3 separate regions of the Homo sapiens genome follow, and regions 2 and 3 are each linked to region 1. The links are contacts of gene promoters, found by promoter capture Hi-C in blood cells and fetal thymus (Javierre and others, 2016). All regions are on one chromosome and are shown on one strand. The core of a region is centred on a gene start or on the middle of the fragment in contact, and the rest is flanking DNA. Distances in the headings are between cores, read along the strand shown.

What was found. Contacts are between HindIII fragments. The CHiCAGO score rates a contact against its expected background, and 5 or more counts as called.
Region 2: a contact is called between a fragment that was not itself captured here and the fragment with the promoter of TEX47 in region 1, in 4 of 17 cell types (naive CD4 T cells, naive CD8 T cells, fetal thymus and 1 more). The highest score is 7.3, in naive CD4 T cells.
Region 3: a fragment that was not itself captured here is called in contact with the fragment with the promoter of TEX47 in region 1 in 2 of 17 cell types (naive CD4 T cells and megakaryocytes); the score reaches 10.5 in naive CD4 T cells.

Annotation. Positions count from the first base shown.
Region 1 is chr7:88,794,125-88,797,529 of GRCh38, reverse strand. TEX47 (testis expressed 47) reads left to right here and starts at 1,793. Exons shown (of 2, transcript NM_152706.4): 1 at 1,793-1,890; 2 at 2,484-3,405. The coding sequence starts at 2,588. The coding sequence ends at 3,349. The region is part of intron 1 of ZNF804B (zinc finger protein 804B); the gene reads right to left. The HindIII fragment of the contact is 9,842 bases long and covers 1-3,405 here.
Region 2 is chr7:89,649,483-89,652,910 of GRCh38, reverse strand. No RefSeq gene overlaps it. Among named protein-coding and RNA genes, the nearest start is that of STEAP1, 500 kb to the left of the region's middle. The HindIII fragment of the contact is 1,109 bases long and covers 1,561-2,669 here.
Region 3 is chr7:89,774,053-89,777,630 of GRCh38, reverse strand. No RefSeq gene overlaps it. Among named protein-coding and RNA genes, the nearest start is that of STEAP1, 380 kb to the left of the region's middle. The HindIII fragment of the contact is 390 bases long and covers 1,484-1,873 here.

The DNA of each region.
Region 1 (3,405 bases), core at 544-3,043:
ATGACTGGAAATTGGAAATAAATACCAGAAGTCACTCTGGATGTGGTGAAGGCAGAGGCTTTGCCTCCCAGCATTCTATGGAGGGAAAGAAAGCAGGGAGGACTTTGTAAAATGAGAATCTTTTTAACTTTATAAAGTAGATGTATCAAAGGGCTTATGGTTTCACACTCTTAGCTGAATTTGTGGGGTGGAGAAATCTAGAAATACTGTGGGTAGAGACCCTTATTATAATCCAAATAAAGAAGTAGGACTATGAAAGAGGTAGTGTAAATCAAGAACCCTTAAGGCATATTAAAGTGAGTAAAAAGACTTAGTAAAAAGAATAGAGTTGGAGTATATAACTTGGATGAAACATGAACAAATAATACCAAGGATTTTGGCCTGGGAACTGAGAGGAAAAAACATGTTAATTTAGACACAAGTGGGGTATTTGTAAAGGGAAACATGTTTAATAAGGAAAATAATTGTTTAAATGTTTTCATTTTAAATTTGAAAAGACAGAGTTACATCCAAGGAGAGAAGAGTTGTGAATAAGTGACTGGAGATAATAATTTGAGAATTTTCTGTGCAAAAATAATCTAGAATGGGAGCTCAGTTTTTTCTTCTTTCTCAACCCCAATTAACTAGTTGTGTCTACCTTGAGACTCAGATTGAAAAATATTTTTAGTCCACAGGTAAGCTCAGAAGGAAAGCCCCATGATCAATTTCCAATTTCAAACGTGCAATCTAGTGGCAAGAGTGGCTTTAAGGACCACTTACCTGCCCTCACAAAAGAGACATATAGATGGTGCTGAGCTAACTGGGCAAAGAAGTAGAGCGAGAGATCCAACCACATCATGAGCGCAGAGCCTAAGTATTTTCCAGAGTTGGATGTGAGAAGGTATTGCCGGGCAAGGCCTCATACAGAGATTTAGAAAGAAATCCAAGAAAGTGCAGTATCATAGAAACCAGGAGAGGAGAGAAGGCCATAATGAAGGCTCTGGTCAACATGGACACTTTCTTCCAACAAAGCTGTAAGAAGAATGAGAGTGAGATAATAACTAGACTGGGCAATGACATGGTTTGGCACCATGGTTTACATCTTCGGAAAGATTGTATTGCTTCAGGGAGTGATAAAGTGAATCACAATGAGGAAGAATAGTCCATTTTTATGTATTACACAATTAATTAATTATTAAGTCACCTCTCTGCCTTCATTTACTTGGATAATTTATCATTGTATTATCATTAAAATTAGATCATTAGTTTGGATAATACAGAACTCAGGGAAAAAATTATTCTTAGGTTTCATTGTTAAAAATTGAATAAACGTTTTTTAAACTTGTTTTAAAATTACTGTTTAGAACTCATGTGGATGCAATTTTAAGAGATGCATCTCTTAAGACACAATTTTAAGAGGTGCATCTCTTAAAATCACATTAAGTTAAGTAAGCCAAATCTTACTATAGAACTTTCTCATCATATATTCACCATTAGATAGATTCAGATATGTGTTCCTGAAGTCTTTAGTTAGTGTCTAAGTAGAACAGAGGAGTTCTACAACCATACTTTTTATTTATCAAACGGAAAAAAAGAAAGGAAAAAGATGTCCAGATTCTCACCATCTGTCTGACTTACAAATGCACCTGACTAAAAATAAACCATTCAGGAATAAGCCATTCACACTTCCTCTGCAGTGACTTTGAAGTGTTTGTCGAGATACCCGTATTAAGAAACTTGGCGCTCTGGTCCTTTAATGGTGCTGACATTCTGACTCACGTATGCCCGAGGGAAGGCAGAACACAGGACAGCTGAGAACACCAGAGGACTGGCAGTTGGGAGCCTGATGGAGGACAAGTAGGGCCTCGAGGACAGGTGCGTGACAGAAGCACAGGAAAAAAAAGAAAAATGGTAAGTTGACCTGGAAAAAAAAATTGAGGAGATTTGTAAGCAGAGTAAGTTAAAGTAGCAGAATACTTTCATGTAGCCCTTACAACAACAAAAACAACAAGAAAACAAATAAAGGGGGGAGAAATGAATCATTTCTGAGATTCGTCGATAGGAGAAAAAACAAAGAACCAAAACTTTTCCCTTGAAATGTTTACTGTTATTATTCAAGGAACATTATTAACTATTAGTGACATGACTAAAGGTTACATAAGCTAATTAGGACTTAAAAAGCCTTGGATTTTTTTTTAAAAGTTATAGATCAGTTAGATTTGTAAAAGAAACTGGAAGAATTACCATAAAATACCATTTTTAAAAAATTTGGCTTATAAAGGACAATCTGTAATCACCATTACATGACATTTACAAAGTTTTTTCCTAGGATATTATTTAACTCTTTCGTTGTAAACTTTTAAAAAAGTCTATAGTTTGAGTATTGTTTTAACATTGTCTTTCATTTCAAATACATTGTTTCCTGATAAAACTGGCAAAAGATTGGGATTTTACTATTTAGTAACATTTGACAAACCGTGATTTACTCTTTTTTTTTTTGTCAGAAGAAATAAAAACACGAGTTCATCAGTAAAGAGGTACCCTGGCAGCATAAATATTATGATAAGCTAAAAGCTGGAATCATCTGGAAAAATAAATAAGACTCCTCATGTCCTTTTCGGTCCATAACCAGAAGGGCAGCAAAAGGCCTTTGCCACTGGAACCTCTTCTTTTTCTCCAAGTCCCACGTAGCAATTACCTGCACTTTCAAGAAGAGAAACAACGACTACACCTAAAGAAATTCCTTCTTGATAGGATGTTTCTAGTGGCCAAGATACAAGCAAATGTAGAAAGAAAAGATGTTGCTGACTACTATGAACAAATGTTTCAGTCAGTTTTGAAACATCACCTAGGAGAAGCAGTGACAGGATTGCTGCTCATCTATCCCACTTCCATTCTGCATATCCTCGAGTCCTCCAGCGACACTCTCTACAAAGTTCTTTTAGATTATATTGGCCATGTCAAAGATGAAACAGTATTTTTTATTCAACAAATGAAAATTATAGTCATTTCTCATAACATTCCAATGAGGCTTTTTATGCAATGGCATGTTTCAGTGATAAAAGTTCCAGTTATGTATCTCGACGATGTGACACAGTCACAGTCCCTAAAGGAGGTCATCACAGATTTTCTCACACAAACTCATAAACTGTCACTCTACCTTTGCCAGACTATGAAAGTAGGCACTAAAGGACCAGGCGATAACTTACACCAAGTTGCACCTGACCTACTCCTCCCAGAACAAATCATAAAGTACTTGTGCAAATCCGAAGAATTCATGGACCCGGCAACATTTATAAACATGTATAATAGACCCATACACATCACTCTGGATTCTGAGGTGGTATGGCCTGCTCCTTCACGTTTCTAGGATTGAGAGGGATAATGTGCCCATGTCTCTTAAGGAGTTTGTGCTACTTAAATAAA
Region 2 (3,428 bases), core at 866-3,365, 860 kb before region 1:
AATAATATGATTTGAGGGAATCTGGAAAGACTTATAAGGACAAAATATCTCCCCTTTTGTCCTCTGTTTCCTTATTTTTATAGTGTGAATAATAGTAGCACCAACATTTAAATATTGTTTTCATCCAATTAAATAGATTAATGCATATAAAATACTTAGAAGGTGTGAGGCACATAGTAGAGTTAGGAATAACAGTAATAAAGTAACTAAATAATGAACTAAGAGCTCCAAGTAATTGATTTGGAATTTGGGAAAAGGATGTACACAGAAATGAGAAGAAGACTCTAGAAGAGGTGAAATGAGGTTGTCAAATAAATATTTTGATGATAACTCTCAAGTTGGAAAACACTGTTTTGGATAAGACCTGCATTCAAAATGTTTTATTTATTTGTTTATTGTTATTTAAAATGTGCACCTTTTGTTTTTAGCATCCAGTATTTGTATTAGTTAATTGTATAATGATAAAAATAGAGCTCTGAGGAGTGCCATAAGCAGAACTCATAGAATACTTCTAGGGTTCTATGTAGTTCATAAAATAGGCTGGAAACATTAGGATAGAGGAAATATTAGGATTTCTGACCCCCCTGTTTGACCACCATATGACGTTTTATGCAGGGTGAAAATTGAAACATATGGAACAAATACACATACAAAAATATTAGAGGACTATTAAAGGAGTTTTATAAAAAAAGGCGTATGGGAGTCCAAATCTGGTAGAAGGGCCAGAAGAGACGTCACAGAGTAAATTATATTTGAGCTGAGTCTAGAAAGATGAACAGAAATATACTTCTTAGGCAAAAAAAATGGAGAAATATATTTCAGGCTGAATAAGCCAAATACAGGAGTATGAAAGATCATAGTAGATCTAGTTCATCACAGTAGGTTCAACTATGATGAACTGTTAAAAGTAGAGTTTAAGCCTGGAGCAGTGGCTCATGCCTTTAATCTCAGCACTTTGGGAGGCCGAGGAAGCTGGATCACTTGAGGTCAGGAGTTCGAGACCAGCCTGGCCAACATCGTGAAACCTCCTCTCTACTAAAAATACAAAAATTAGCCAGGTGTGGTGGTGCACGACTGTAGTCCCAGCTACTTGGGAGGCTGAGGCAGGAGAATTGCTTGAGCCCAGGAGATGGAAGTTGCAGTGAGCCAAGATTGTGCCACTGCACTCCAGCCTGGGTGACAGAGTGAGACTCGGTCTCGAAAATATAAAATAAAATTAAAATAAAAATAAAAAAATACAAAAATAGAGTTTAGTGAGCATTTGTTGTATTCTGAGAGATGACTTTGAAAAGATAGAAACCATGTTATCAAGGAGTTTTCTCTTTATGTTGGGTGGCATGGAAGAATTTTATACCAAAAATTGTATGGTACATTTTCAGTTTAGAAAATATAGCCTGGAATTTGAATACACAGAATGAGATGATATCCTGAAACCATAAATATTTTAAAAGTCTCTTTATTTCCCACTAAAAGTATGAATGCATTTACTAAGGGTGAAGCCGTTCTATAACACCAATAAATAGAGAGGTATTCCATTCATTTACATGACACTTCCAAGCTTATTGTCAATAAATGTTACAGATGAGAGAATACATACTATGAAAGGGAGCCCCAGCAGAATGGGTAAACAAATTCCTCAATTTTTCCCATCTCAATTTCTCTAGAATCCCTATAACATCTCCTAATTCAGAGTGAACTGTGAATAAAAGGATGGACTTTGGAGCAGTGGCAGGGGTTTGCGGAGATGAATGGCAGGGTTTTAGCTAAGTTCTAGAACCTTCAAAGTAAAGAATCCCATAGAGGTCATATAGACTTTGCACAGAGGTATCCAGGAGACTGTGAAAATTGCTGAAAATAACTAAGACACATTGCAACATTGGCTTTTGACTCACAAAAATAAATTTCTCTGAAATTGCACCTGTATTTCTTTGCCTAAACCCCTATCTATCTACTATGGCATTCACACTAGATCTTGAAATCTCAAAACATCAAAAGAAAATAAGTTTGAATCTTTTTATATTTATATTTTGTTTTTACTGTTTGTGTTGCTTTCATATTTTATTCTCTATTTTTTTGAGACTGACAAAATTGACATGTGAAAACAACTACTGACAGACCCAGAGATTACCACTATTAAATGAGTTACAATGGATAGGAATTTACCCTGAAACTCAATAGTGTGGTCATTAGAGGACTCAAATCAAATAACTTTAAACAAGAAGGCTTACAAATATTCTATTAAATAATGAGAGTAGTATTTAAATAATGTAAAATAAGATCAGAATGTTCCAAATACTAAGAAAACCAGATTTTGGGGAAATGAAAACAATGATTACTAAATTTAAAAATACATATCATATAAAATCTAGTCTATAGTGATAGTAGATTAACTATTGTATTAAATTTGATTATTTAGAAGATAACTTTGAAATCAAAACAGCATGGTGTTGGCATAAAACAGAAGTAGAGGCCAATGGACTAGAATAGAAGGCCCAAAAAGTAATTCATTCATTCATAGTCAGTTGATTTCTGACAAAGATGCTGCAAACACACAATGGGGAAAGGACAGTCTCTTCAATAAATGGTGCTGGGAAAACTGTACGTGAAAAGAATAAAATTAGACTTCCATCTCATAACTATATACAAAAATAAACTCAAAATGTAAAGCTTAGATATTAAGACCTGAACCTGTGAGACTACTGTAAGAAAACATAGAGGAAAAGCTCCATGACATTGGTTTGGGCAATAATTTTTTGGATTTAAACCCAAAAGCACAGGCAACAAAAGCAAAGATAGACAAATGGGATTACATCAATATAAAAAGCTTCTGCACAGCAAAGGAAACAACAGAATAAAGAGACAATCTATGTACAGGAGAATAAATTTGCAAACCACACATCTAATAATGGGTTAAGTCTAAAATATACAAGGAACTCAAACAACTCAATCGTAAGAAAACAACTCAATTAAAAATGGGCAAAGGACTTGAGTGGACATTTCTCTAAAGAAGATATACAAATGGACAACAGGTATATGAAAAAATGCTTATAATCATTAATCATCAGAGAAATGCAAATTAAAATCACAATGAGATATTACCTCATACCAGTCAGGATAGCTATTACCAAAAAGAGAAAATGTAAATGTTGGAAAGGATATGAGGAAAAGGAAACTCTTATACTATTGGTGGAAATGTAAATCAGCACAGCTCTTATGAAAAACAATTTGGAGGTTCCTCAAAAAATTAAAAATAAAGGACTGTATGGTCCAGTAATCCAACTACTGAGTATATATCTAAAGGATATGACAAGAGTATGTTAAAGAGGTAACTGCACTCCCTTGTTTGTTGCAGCATTTTTCACAATAGCCATGCTATGGAATTAACCTGGGTGTCCATTGACAGACAAATGGAAAAAGGAAATGTGATG
Region 3 (3,578 bases), core at 429-2,928, 980 kb before region 1:
TAAACATGTATCTTGATGGGACCTTGGAGAAAAAGGTACATTAAATAAAAACTAAAACTAAGGAAATCTTAACAAAGTATGTAATTTTCACTCATTGCAAATGGTACTGCAAAATAGTACAAATTTATGGTAGTAAATTTGCAAATATCTAACAAATCTGCATATGCACATCCTTTGACAAGCAAATCTATCTCTAGTTATTTATGCTGGTGGTCATCTGCACAAATATGCAACAATATATGCAAAGGGTTATTAATTAGCTAGATTTAACTATTCCACAATGTGTATACTCTTCAAAATATCATGTTGCACATAATAAAAACATACCATGTTTTTTGTCAATTGAAAAATATTGATGACAACTTAGACACATCTGTTATGAATTTACATTCAAAATTGAAAGTGAGGCAGCAGTAACAAGAAATGAGGATGCCATTTATATGCCGATGTGGCATAAACTTCAGGATATAGTGATAAGTCAAAACAGCAAGGTATGCAAGATGATATATAAAATGTTACCTTTTTTAATTAAACAGGACAATTGATATATGCATGTTTGCTTGTTTTTGCATAAAGAAGCTCAGGAAGTGATGCGTAGGAATGTCAGAATGTAGAAGATGTAGGGAGAGAATTGAGGGTTCTCTGACTATGCCTGTGTATATAGCTTTACATTATGAATCATGTAAAAAATGATTTACATTAAAAAAATGAGATCAGGCACATTCAGGGTGATCTGGCCATAGACAAAAATAAATTAAAAAATTAAAAAGAATAAAAACACATGAGAAATACACAAAAATAATATTTTCAAAGGGACAATGAAACCAGAGTAAATAATTAATTCAAATAACTATTGAATATAATATTCTTGCTCTATGCTTTTAATGGAATATATTCTGGGACACACAAAACTTCCCAATCACTATAAAGAATATTAGACTTTACTTAGTATGGTTGCTGTTAGTAGTGATATTGGTGTTGTATTTCTAAAAGCATTATTTATGTGTTTTAGGAAAAAGCAAATGTATAAAATAAAGATATTGTTAAACTTTTACTATGGGTAAAGGGAGATGCCAATATGGAGTGGTAAAAGGTGAAAATAATTTTATGTTATTGAAAAAAATATATATATTCATATATATTCCTATATATTGCAGCAATTATAAATAAAATGCAGTACTTCTATATATATAAAAATTCACCTATGTGTTGAATAATACATCCATAATATACATCTATAGTTCAACTGTGTATTTGTGGGTATGTATTTGTGGTTTCCTAGATCTGTCCCTGAAAGTGTATAGAAGCAATGACACCCTAGTGGCAATGAGCAGCTAGCAGTATAACATAGTGATACATCTAGATTTCTAAATATAATATCCTACCAAAAGGAATTTTGACTCCTTGGAAAAATAGCTGTTTTCACATCTGCACAAAGGAAAGTACAAATTGAGCCTGAAACATCTTCTTGTAACAGAAAGCTTGAAGAAATACACAAGGATGGGGTAAGGCTAAAAGGATACAGGAGCCAGCTTGAAGCAGTCTAAATTTTGCAAAATTATGATGGTAATGAATTATAACACATGGAATAAAGTTTTAAAAACATGACTCCATATTGATATTAAAGAAAAACAATAAATGAAAACAGGAGAGACAGAGAGAAAGGAAGACAGAGAAAGGTGAAAAACTCTTCTTTACAGAAGAATACCAGCTGATTAAAATAGAAAAGATGATTCAATTAGAAAATCACCATTTTGTAACTCCCAATTTGATTCAAACATAGATAATCAATTTGTTCACCTCACAAAATACTCCTTGATTACAAAGGGTAATTTTTCCTTTATGATGGAAACCTTAAACAAGTAATCAAGCTTTTTATTGCCAGTAGGAACATAGCTTGAAATGAGGGTTCTGATGTGATTCAATGATACACAATGTCACCAATATATCATTCTTGCTAGAAAACTTTGACCTGAATTTCAACACAAGATGAATCACTAATGTGAGCTTTCTGCAGGACAACTGACCTGAACTCTTGAAAGGATTCAGTGGCATAAAGAACAAAGGGAGTACAGAGAATTGTTCTAAATTTAAGGAGACAAATGAAAAATAAAAGTTAAATCCAAAGTATTTTGTAATATTGATTGGATTTCAGATGGAAAAAAATAAAGTATAAAGAACATTTTTGAAACAATACAGGCATTTTATTATAGATTTTTTCCTTGGATTATATTGCACTGAGGTTGATTTTCTTAGGTGTGATAATGGTTTTCTGGTCACATAGAAAATGTCATTGCTTTTCAGAGTTTATGCTTAAGTATTTGGGGCTTAAAAAGTCATGATGCCCATAGTCCACTTAAGGATGATTTGAAAAAATGAAAAGAACTCTCTCTTTCTCTCTCATGTTCTCTCTCTCTCTCTCTTTCTGTGTGAGTATACACACATATGAATATGCTTCATGTGTATTATATATGTGTATATATAAAACACATATAAATATATATGTAATACATGTATACACATATATACCTATCGACACAAACGTGTGGGTATACACACAAACACACAGAGATAGAATGTGGGGGTGTGGTGTGATGTTAACAACTGGTCTAAAGTATATAGGAGTTCATTATTTTGTTCTTTGAACTTGTGAGTTTGAAATCTTTCAAAATAAAACAGCAAGTAAAACAACAACAACAAAAATTCCCTAATCAATTTCCACATTCTTCTTTTCTGTGTTATCGAAGTTTCTATAGCAAGATCATAACCCTGTCTTTGGTCATTTAAAAACTTATGTTCATGAAACTCTTGCCCTGTTAACAATATTGACTTCTACTGAATTTTACATTATGTCCTTGAAAGGTGATAAGTAATTTCCAGATGAAAGTCGTTAAATGGATTCTCATTGCAATATTTAAAGGCTGAAAAGTGATATGAGATCAATAAAGTATGGCTTGTCATTCTCTACTTTTCTTCCATTCTGAATGTTACCTGAGGATACTGAAGAATTTGTATGATTAGTTATGGTGATAGAATCAGAGTCTAAAGTTGATATGGCTGATATGTCTTCATTACGTCTTCTAATATCCACTGGGGTGCTTTTTCAAATACTCTAAGTAACACCCTGGGATATTTTAAGTTTTAATATAATTCTCCTGTGGGAAAAATACAAATTTTCTTAAAACTCTACAATACTATTGTTTTCAAGTTGAGAATTATTACAGATAATACATTTCCTTATCTCCTCAATTGTATAAAATCACTTCTAATAAATTAAGAAAATTTAATTTCTTAAAATAAAATCATTAAGCAAGAGTTTCTGCATTACATAAAAATATACATGTGCAAACTATTAGATAAAGTGTGTGTGTTTTTTTTTTAAAAAAAGAAATGCAATTCATAACAGCCAAGGTAATCAGAGATAGCTGATCTTAGCTAGTCTTGAGATTTTAATTATAACCAATTACATAGAAAAGAATAAAATCCTAAATATTTCATTTATTAAAATCTGAAATGAATTATTTTTGCTGGTACGTTTCCAGATTCATATCCTTAATATTTCTTAATGTCATTATTAC